2 separate regions of the Homo sapiens genome follow, and region 1 is linked to region 2. Evidence: promoter capture Hi-C in human tissues and cell types (Jung and others, 2019). All regions are on one chromosome and are shown on one strand. The core of a region is centred on a gene start or on the middle of the fragment in contact, and the rest is flanking DNA. Distances in the headings are between cores, read along the strand shown.

The links. The method cuts DNA at HindIII sites, captures the fragments that hold promoters and counts their contacts. A contact is called where the count stands out against the background at its distance.
Region 1: a contact is called between a fragment that was not itself captured here and the fragment with the promoter of WBP2NL in region 2, in 1 of the 25 tissues and cell types used here (dorsolateral prefrontal cortex).

Annotation. Positions count from the first base shown.
Region 1 is chr22:42,453,504-42,457,349 of GRCh38, reverse strand. No RefSeq gene overlaps it. Among named protein-coding and RNA genes, the nearest start is that of NFAM1, 23 kb to the right of the region's middle. The HindIII fragment of the contact is 8,803 bases long and covers 1-3,846 here.
Region 2 is chr22:41,996,611-42,000,443 of GRCh38, reverse strand. WBP2NL (WBP2 N-terminal like) reads right to left here and starts at 1,656. Exons shown (of 6, transcript NM_152613.3): 1 at 1,564-1,656. The coding sequence starts at 1,625. It overlaps SEPTIN3 (septin 3), which reads right to left. Exons shown (of 12, transcript NM_001363845.2): 12 at 2,223-3,542. The coding sequence ends at 3,477. It also overlaps the pseudogene SLC25A5P1. RefSeq lists enhancers at 1,075-1,589, 1,590-2,106 and a silencer at 1,704-1,763. The HindIII fragment of the contact is 18,305 bases long and covers 1-3,833 here.

The sequences.
Region 1 (3,846 bases), core at 627-3,126, 460 kb before region 2:
AATGGCCGGGCGTGGTGGCTCATGCCTGTAATCCCAGCACTTTGGGAGGCCGAGGCGGGCAGATCACGAGGTCAGGAAATCGAGACAATCCTGGCTAACACAGTGAAACCCCGTCTCTACTAAAAATACAAAAAATTAGCCGGGCGTGGTGGCGGGCGCCTGTAGTCCCAGCTATTCGGGAGGCTGAGGCAGGAGAATGGTGTGAACCCAGGAGGCAGAGCTTGCAGTGAGCCGAGATCACGCCACTGCACTCCAGCCTGAGTGACAGAGCCAGAATCAGTTTCAAAAAACAAAAAACAAAAAAAAAAATTCCCAGCAAACTGAGAATAGAGAACTTCTTCAACCTGATAAATAGCATCTACAAAGAAACGTACAGCTAATAATACCACACAACTTGATATGTTGGGTTTTCCTTTTCAGTCAGTTCAAAATACTTTCTGACTTCTCTTTTGACTTCTTTTTTGACCCGTGGATTATTTAGAAGTGTGTTATTTCGTTTTCAAGTTATTTGGGCATTTTCAGAGCTCTTTCTGTTACCAATTTCTAATTTAATTCCATTGTAAGAGAGCATACTTTGAATGACTTGAGTCCCTTTAAATGTACTGAGACTTGTTTAATGTCTCAGAATATTGTCTATGTTGGTAAATATTCTGTGTGAACTTGAGAGGAATGTGTATTCTGCTGTTGTTGGGTAAAGTGTTTTATAAATGTCCATTGGATCGAGTTGGTTGATAATGTTGTTCAAATCTTCTATATATTTGCTGGTTTTCTGTCTATTCATTCTATCAATTTCTATGTATTTATTCAGAGGTGGGATCTCACTATGTTGTCCAGACTAGACTCAAGTCCTGGGCTAAAGTGCTTCTCCTGCCACAGCCTCCTGAGTAGCTGGGACTACAGGTGATACACGGCTATACCCAGCTATTCTATCAATTCTATCAATTATTGAAAGCAGGGTATTGACATCTTCAACTATGATTGTCAACTTTTCCATTTCTCTTTGCTGTTCTATAAGTTTTTGCTTCAAGTGTTTTGAAGCTCTGTTATTAGGTACATAAACGTTTAGAATTGTTATGTCCTCTGGAATAACTGACCCCTTAATCATTATTGAATTAACCTCTTTATCCCTGGTAATGTCTTCTGCTATACAATCTACTTGGTCTGATATTGATAAGCCACGCTAGCTTTTTTTGGATTTGTGATAGCATGGTAGGTATGTCTTTTTCCATCCTTCTACTTTTAACCTATTTGTGTCTTTATATTTGAAGTGTGTTTCTTATAAATAGGATACTGAATCTTTTTTTAATCCAATCTGACAATCTCTGCCTTTAAATTTGGACATTTTCTTTTCTTTCCTTTTTTTTTTTTTTTTAGAAAGGGTCTCACTCTGTCACCCAGGCTGGAGTGTAGTGGTGCGCAATTGTGGCTCACTGCAGCCTTCACTTCCTGGGCTCAAGTGATCCTCCTGCCTCAGCCTCCGCAGTAGCTGGGACTACAGGTGCACACCACCACACCCGGCTAAATATTGTATTTTTTGTAGAGATAGGGTTTCACCATGTTGGCCAGGCCTAGACCATTTACTTTTTATTTTATTATTCATTTATTTATTTTGAGACAGAGTCTCGCTCTGTCACCCAGGCTGGAGTACAGTGGAGCGATCCACCAACCTCTGCCTCCCAAGGTGCTGGGATTACAGTCATGAGCCACCGCATCCAGCCTGAACTCATTGTATTTATTGTAGTTTCTTAAATAGATGGAGTGTGTATGTGGAGAATCAGAAATACACTACTTTTAGGTTCTTTTTTTTGGGAGGGTGGGGAGTGGGGATAGGGTCTTGCTCTGTTGCCCAGGTTGGAGTGCAGTGGCACAATCATGGCTCACTGCAGCCTTGACTTCCTGGGCTCAAGCGATCCCAAGTAGCTGAGACTACAGGCATGTACTACCATACCCAGCTAATTTTTTACATTTTTTTGTAGAGATGGGGTGTCACTGGTCTCAAACTTGTGGGCTCAAGCAATCTACCCTCCTCAGCCTCCCAAAGTGCTGGGATTACAGGCATAAGCCACCGCACCTGGCCAATGTTCTTATGCTTTATATTAAGTAGTATATTGGCTGGGCATGGTGGCTCATGCCTGTAATTCCAGCACTTTGGGAGGCTGAGGCAGGCGGATCACAAGGTCAGGAGATAGAGACCATCCTGGCGAACACGGTGAAACCCTGTCTCTACTAAAAATACAAAAAATTAGCCGGGCATGGTGGCAGGCACCTGTAGTCCCAGCTACTTGGGAGACTGAGACAGGAGAATGGCGTGAACCCGGGAGGCAGAGCTTGCAGTGAGCCAAGATTGCGCCACTGCACTCCAGCCTGAGGGACAGAGCGAGACTGTCTAAAAAAAAAAAAAAAAAGGTAGCATATTATCACTTAAAGGTAGATTGTGATTGGCAGGGCACGGTGGCTCACGCCTGTAATCCCAGCATTTTGGGAGCCCGAAGTGGGTGGATCATGAGGTCAGGAGTTTGAGACCAGCCTGACCAACATGGTGAAACTCCATCTCTACTAAAAGTACAAAATTTAGCCAGGTGTGGTGGTGGACACCTGTAATCCCAACTACTCAAGAGGCTGAGGCAGGTGAATTGCTTGAACCCAGGAGACAGAGGTTGCAGTTCACACCATTGCACTCCATCCTGGGCAACAGAGCGAGACTCTTGTCTCAAAAACAAAAAAAAGAAGGTAGATTATGATTAATTGAAGTTGAACAAAAATCAACTAGGAAATACTTTTTTTTTTTTCTTTTTTGAGACAGGGCCTCACTCTGTCACCCAGGCTGGAGTGCAGTGGTGCAATCTCGACTCACTGCAAACTCCACCTCTCAGGCCCAGGTCATCCTCCCACCTCAGCCTCCCAAGCAGCCTCCAAGCACCTGCACCACCACATCTGGCTAATTTTGTATTTTTTGTAGAGATGGGGTTTTGTCATATTGCCCAGGCTGGTCTCAAATTCTTGGGCTTAGTTGACCTGCCCACCTCAGCCTCCCAAAGTGCTGGGATCGCAGGCATGAGCCGCCGCCCTGGCCTGGGAATTTTTTTTTTTCAATTTAAATTTGATTTAGAACTAAATAAAGCATTTACATGATGGCAAAGTCAAAACTGAAGAACAAGGTGTATTAAAGAGGTCTGCTTCCATCCCCTCTATACTGTTACTGATTTTTTTCCTTGGCGTGGTCTTATTTTTTAGATTTTAGGTTCAAGAGATTCTCCTGCCTCAGCCTCCAGAGTAGCTGGGATTACAGGTGCATGCCACTATGCCTGGCTAATTTTTTGTATTTTTTAGTAAACACAAAGTTTCACCATGTTGGCCAGGCTGGTCTCGAACTCCTGACCTCAGGTGATCCACCTGCCTCGGCCTCCCAAAGTGCTGGGATTACAGGTGTGAGCCACAGCATCTAGTCCCTCCTCCAGACTCTTAACATTGATGCTGCTCTTCTTCTATGACATCATGAGGTGGCAAAAGACACAGGTTCATTGTTAAGGGTCATGTCGACAGCCTGGTGACTAGGCTTATATGCTTAGATTTCCTGAGTATTTTGAGTTCCCCTGGTGTACACAGAAGGGTCACCGTGGTCAGTAACTGATGCTTGCCATGCGCCGGCACCGTGTTGAGTATTTTATAGATGTCTATGACTGTGTAACAGGCCGGGCACAGTGGCTCATGCCTGTAATCCCAGCACTTTGGGAGGCCAAGGTGGGCAGATCTCTTGAGCTCAGGAGTTTGAGACCAGCTGGCCAACATGGTGAAACCCTGTCTCTCCTAAAGATACAAAAAAATTAGCCGGGCATGGTGGCAGAT
Region 2 (3,833 bases), core at 407-2,906:
AAGAAAAGAAAAAAGAAAAGAAAAGAAAGGCTTCACACCATGGAATGACAAGTGCTCAAATGGCTCTCAGTAAGTGCTCACGGGGACACCACTGTCAGAGTGGTGAGCAATCATCTACCACAAAATGGAACAAAGCAGCAGAGGTACGTAGGAAGCAGGTGAGAACATACAACCTCTAAGGCCCATATAAATCTGTCAAGAAAACTTTCTGGAGGAAGGAAAGATAGAAGAAAGACCTGGATATCAGCATTTGGTAACGTCTACTTCGATCTTCCTGACAACTACATTCAAACTGACCTGAGTGTGCTGGCCCCAAGCACATCATCCAGCTTGAGTTTCAATGCTGGTTGGGAGAAAAGGAAATTGAGGGCAAGTCAGAGCCCAGAAAGGAGCGCAATTTAGAACTGCACAGCGGGGGAGACTGAGTTTGAGTGTAGGAAACGGGAAAGGGGGCGTGTGGGGTAAAGAGGTGAGCGCAGTGGAGTCAGGCCTTAGTGAACAAGTGTGCTTGAAGGTGGAGATGGGCACCCCTCTGGCTGAGTCTGCTCCAGTAGAGAGCTCAGGGGCCAGCAGCAGGCACCGCAAGGAGCAAAGCAACTGGTGTAAGCCCCACAGCTTCCTGCGACCAACAGTGCTTTGTTGTGCCCAGGCATCTGTTCAGTCCCATCTTTTATTTTAAGACAGGATCTGGCTCTGTTACCCAGGCTGGAGTGCAGTGGTACAATCTGAGCTCACTGCAGCCCAAACTCCTGGGTTCAAGCAATCCTCTTACCATCGCCTCCCAAGCAGCTGGGATTATGGGTGCACACCACCATGGCCCACTAATTTTCTACTTTTTGTAGAGATGGGGTCTCACTATGTTGCCCAGTCTTGTCTCAAACTCCTGGGCCACCTCAGCTTCCCAAACTGTTGGGATAAGAGGCATGAGCCACTGCACCTGGCCTCAATTTTTTCAATTTTGTTTTTAAAAGCAGACATCTCCCTGGTTGGAGCAAGGAGGAAACATGGCTTTAGAAAGTTTCCAGGTCCAAGGAGAAGCCCCACAACAGTTTGAGATCTTTCCAGAATGATCCACACTCGACCTCCTCATCCCTCTTACCAAAGAGCGACACCTTGTTCGTGGAAGTAGGAGGAGATACACACCCAGTACCTGTCCTCATCCAACAAAGTCGCAGGCACCCAAGGGCAGCCACGCTGCCACCGAAGGCCCCCGGCTGCTCACAACCGCCGGTCAGCTCCGGCCTCTCTTCGAAGGACACACGCGTCTCGCACCCCCTCCCCGCCCCGCCCTGAGGAGACATGCGTCTGGGCCCCGCGCCTTGAAAAGGCGCATTCCCACCCCCACCCCTCAAACGCGCGAGGCCACGCGTTCCGGCCTCCGCCACCTCCACATGCCGGAACACCAGTGAGGGGCGCGCGCTCCCAAAGGTCGGGGGCGGAGCTAAGAGCGCCGCGCCCAAAAAAGGCGGCAAAGTCCCTGACTCGCTGAGAGTTTGCGAGCCGCCATGTCTATCTCATTCGTCTCCTCTCCTCCGACAGCACGCCGTGCTTCCCCTCAGGCACCTTTCACCGTTAGGGATGAGGGCTCCGCGGCGGTTCTCGGTGTGGCTCTGATTCACCGCCATCTTGCTTCGGGCCTCCTGCCGCCCCGTAGATGGAAAGGGGCGGGACCTGCGCCGAGCTGTGGGGCGCGGTTCTGAAGGGGAGGGCGGAGATTATGACGTAAGGAGGAGGAGGAGGAGGAGCGAGACCGGGTCACGTGGTGGGGCAGTGCCCGGGGAGCGGGGCGGAGTCAGGGTAGAGGCCCCCGCCGAGAAAGGGGAGAAAGAGGCGGGCCCTGAGAATTGGCTCGAGCGCGAAGGGGTGAGTGATAGGTGAGTGGCCTCCCGACCTCACCTGCCCCCTTAGCCCCCTGCCTTTAGGTATGGACTTGGGTTGGTCCTGTCAGGAATGATCTCAGCTCACTGCACCTCCAACCTCCCATGCTCAAGCCATCTTCCCACCTCAACCTCCCATCCATTACTCACTTTGGTTATGAAACACTAGAAAATAATGACTGAGGCCCGACCTGACGCCAACTGAAGATGAACTGACCTCACAAAGTGTTTTCATCTCTAATATCTGTGGCTATTTCTTACCAAGAGAGTCTCACCCTCCACACATGGGTGAGATGACATAATGGCTGATTTGGTCAAGGAGCACAAATAAGACAGGCCAGGCAGTTACTGTTCAAACAGCAATGTTTAGTTGTACAACACATAAAGTCTAGCAACAATTACAGGACCAGTTTGAGTGTCTGTTTGCTTGTTTTCAATTGGGAAATTTAACTGTAATGTCACCGTAAGATTGGCTGGGACTGGTAACATTTAAGAAACGGGTTGTTCTTGCATCCCCTAGGCGTGGGCCTCTTGCTCCATCAGGACTTGGTTGTAGATGAATGGCCCACAAGTCACCAGCCTTTGAGCAAGTTGTGTCCAGGTGGAGACAGGAAGAGGGTGGGCAAAGGGGAATTCTATAAAGACACAGTGTGTGGGGCAGTGGCAGTCAACATTCGCAAACATTCATGCATCTGATGGGGGGCTTTGCCCTCCCTTGGGTATTTTCCATTAGCCTACAGTGACCACCTGTGGTCAGGCTAATTCATTACTCACATTAATGGGGAAGGGGGTTGGGGGTAGGAGTAGGTAGGGTAGGTGGGAAGAGATCCCTCTTATTGCTGAGTGGACAGAAGGGTGCTAGTTTTTCCTTAGCGTGTACATATTGTGGGTTTCTGGGGGTTTGTGTGTGTGTTTAGTTTTTGTTTGTTTGTTTGGACAGAAGAAAGTCAACTCCAGCAATGTCTTCTTAGGAAAACCACTCTTCCTCAGTGGCTGCGTTATGAGGTGGGGAGGATGTACAACCGCACTCTGGGACAGCCACAAGTGGTGATTTTTTAAAAAGTGATCCTAGCCCTTGCTCCCCAACATCTGTAGTGACCCACCCTCATGAATATCTTTAAGTAATGAAGGAGACACCCTTGTCCCACTTTGGGGCTCACACAGCTGATCTCAATGAATCTAGTAAGCAGAAAAATTGCTTTCTTGACCCTTTAAGGAAGCCAAGAGTAGCTCATGCAGATGAATGGGTAGGGAGCAATGCCATTGCCCTTAGAGATGGTTACAAGTAGCTGGGATGGGCTTACAAGGGCAGAAGGAGCTCTTGATGAGTTCTTTCACCCTGCAGATGGGCTAGGACCGGCTGACGCAGATGATGCAGTAGGGCTGTACTGGCAGAACCCCACTCCACTGGGAGGAGAGGAGTGGTTTGGATAAATGGAGGATGCAACTGGCCTAAAGAGGCAGCTGGCCCCTCCCACCTACTGAGGGCTGAGAGGGGCTGTGGTGGTGAGCTGGACGAGCACAGCACTAAAAAGGGCTTGGCCCTGCAGCAATAACAGCTGAGAGGAATGGAGTGAGAAGCAGCGCTTGAAATGGCCTTCATTCAGCAGTGGGGCAGGGGGTGGCTGGCACAGGTGGAAGGACAGTGCCCAGGAGGCCTTCTCCCTGCAGGGGGGTTGAGAACGGTTGAGGGTGTGGAGACCAGCAGCTGGCAGCAGACATATAAAATACCTTCTCCAGGGAGGCTCAGATCATGGTTCAGGGGTGCCAGGCACCATTCCTACTCAGCCTTTCCAACGCCCACCTCCCATGCCCATAGATCTTCCCCTGCTGGTCCAAGGTCTCCATACAGGACTGCTTCTACAGTAGCCAAGGATCCCTGTTCTGTTGAAATGTATAACCTCTGGGCTGTAGCGCTGCTGCTGTTCTGTCCTGACAGGTGCCTACCCTGTAACT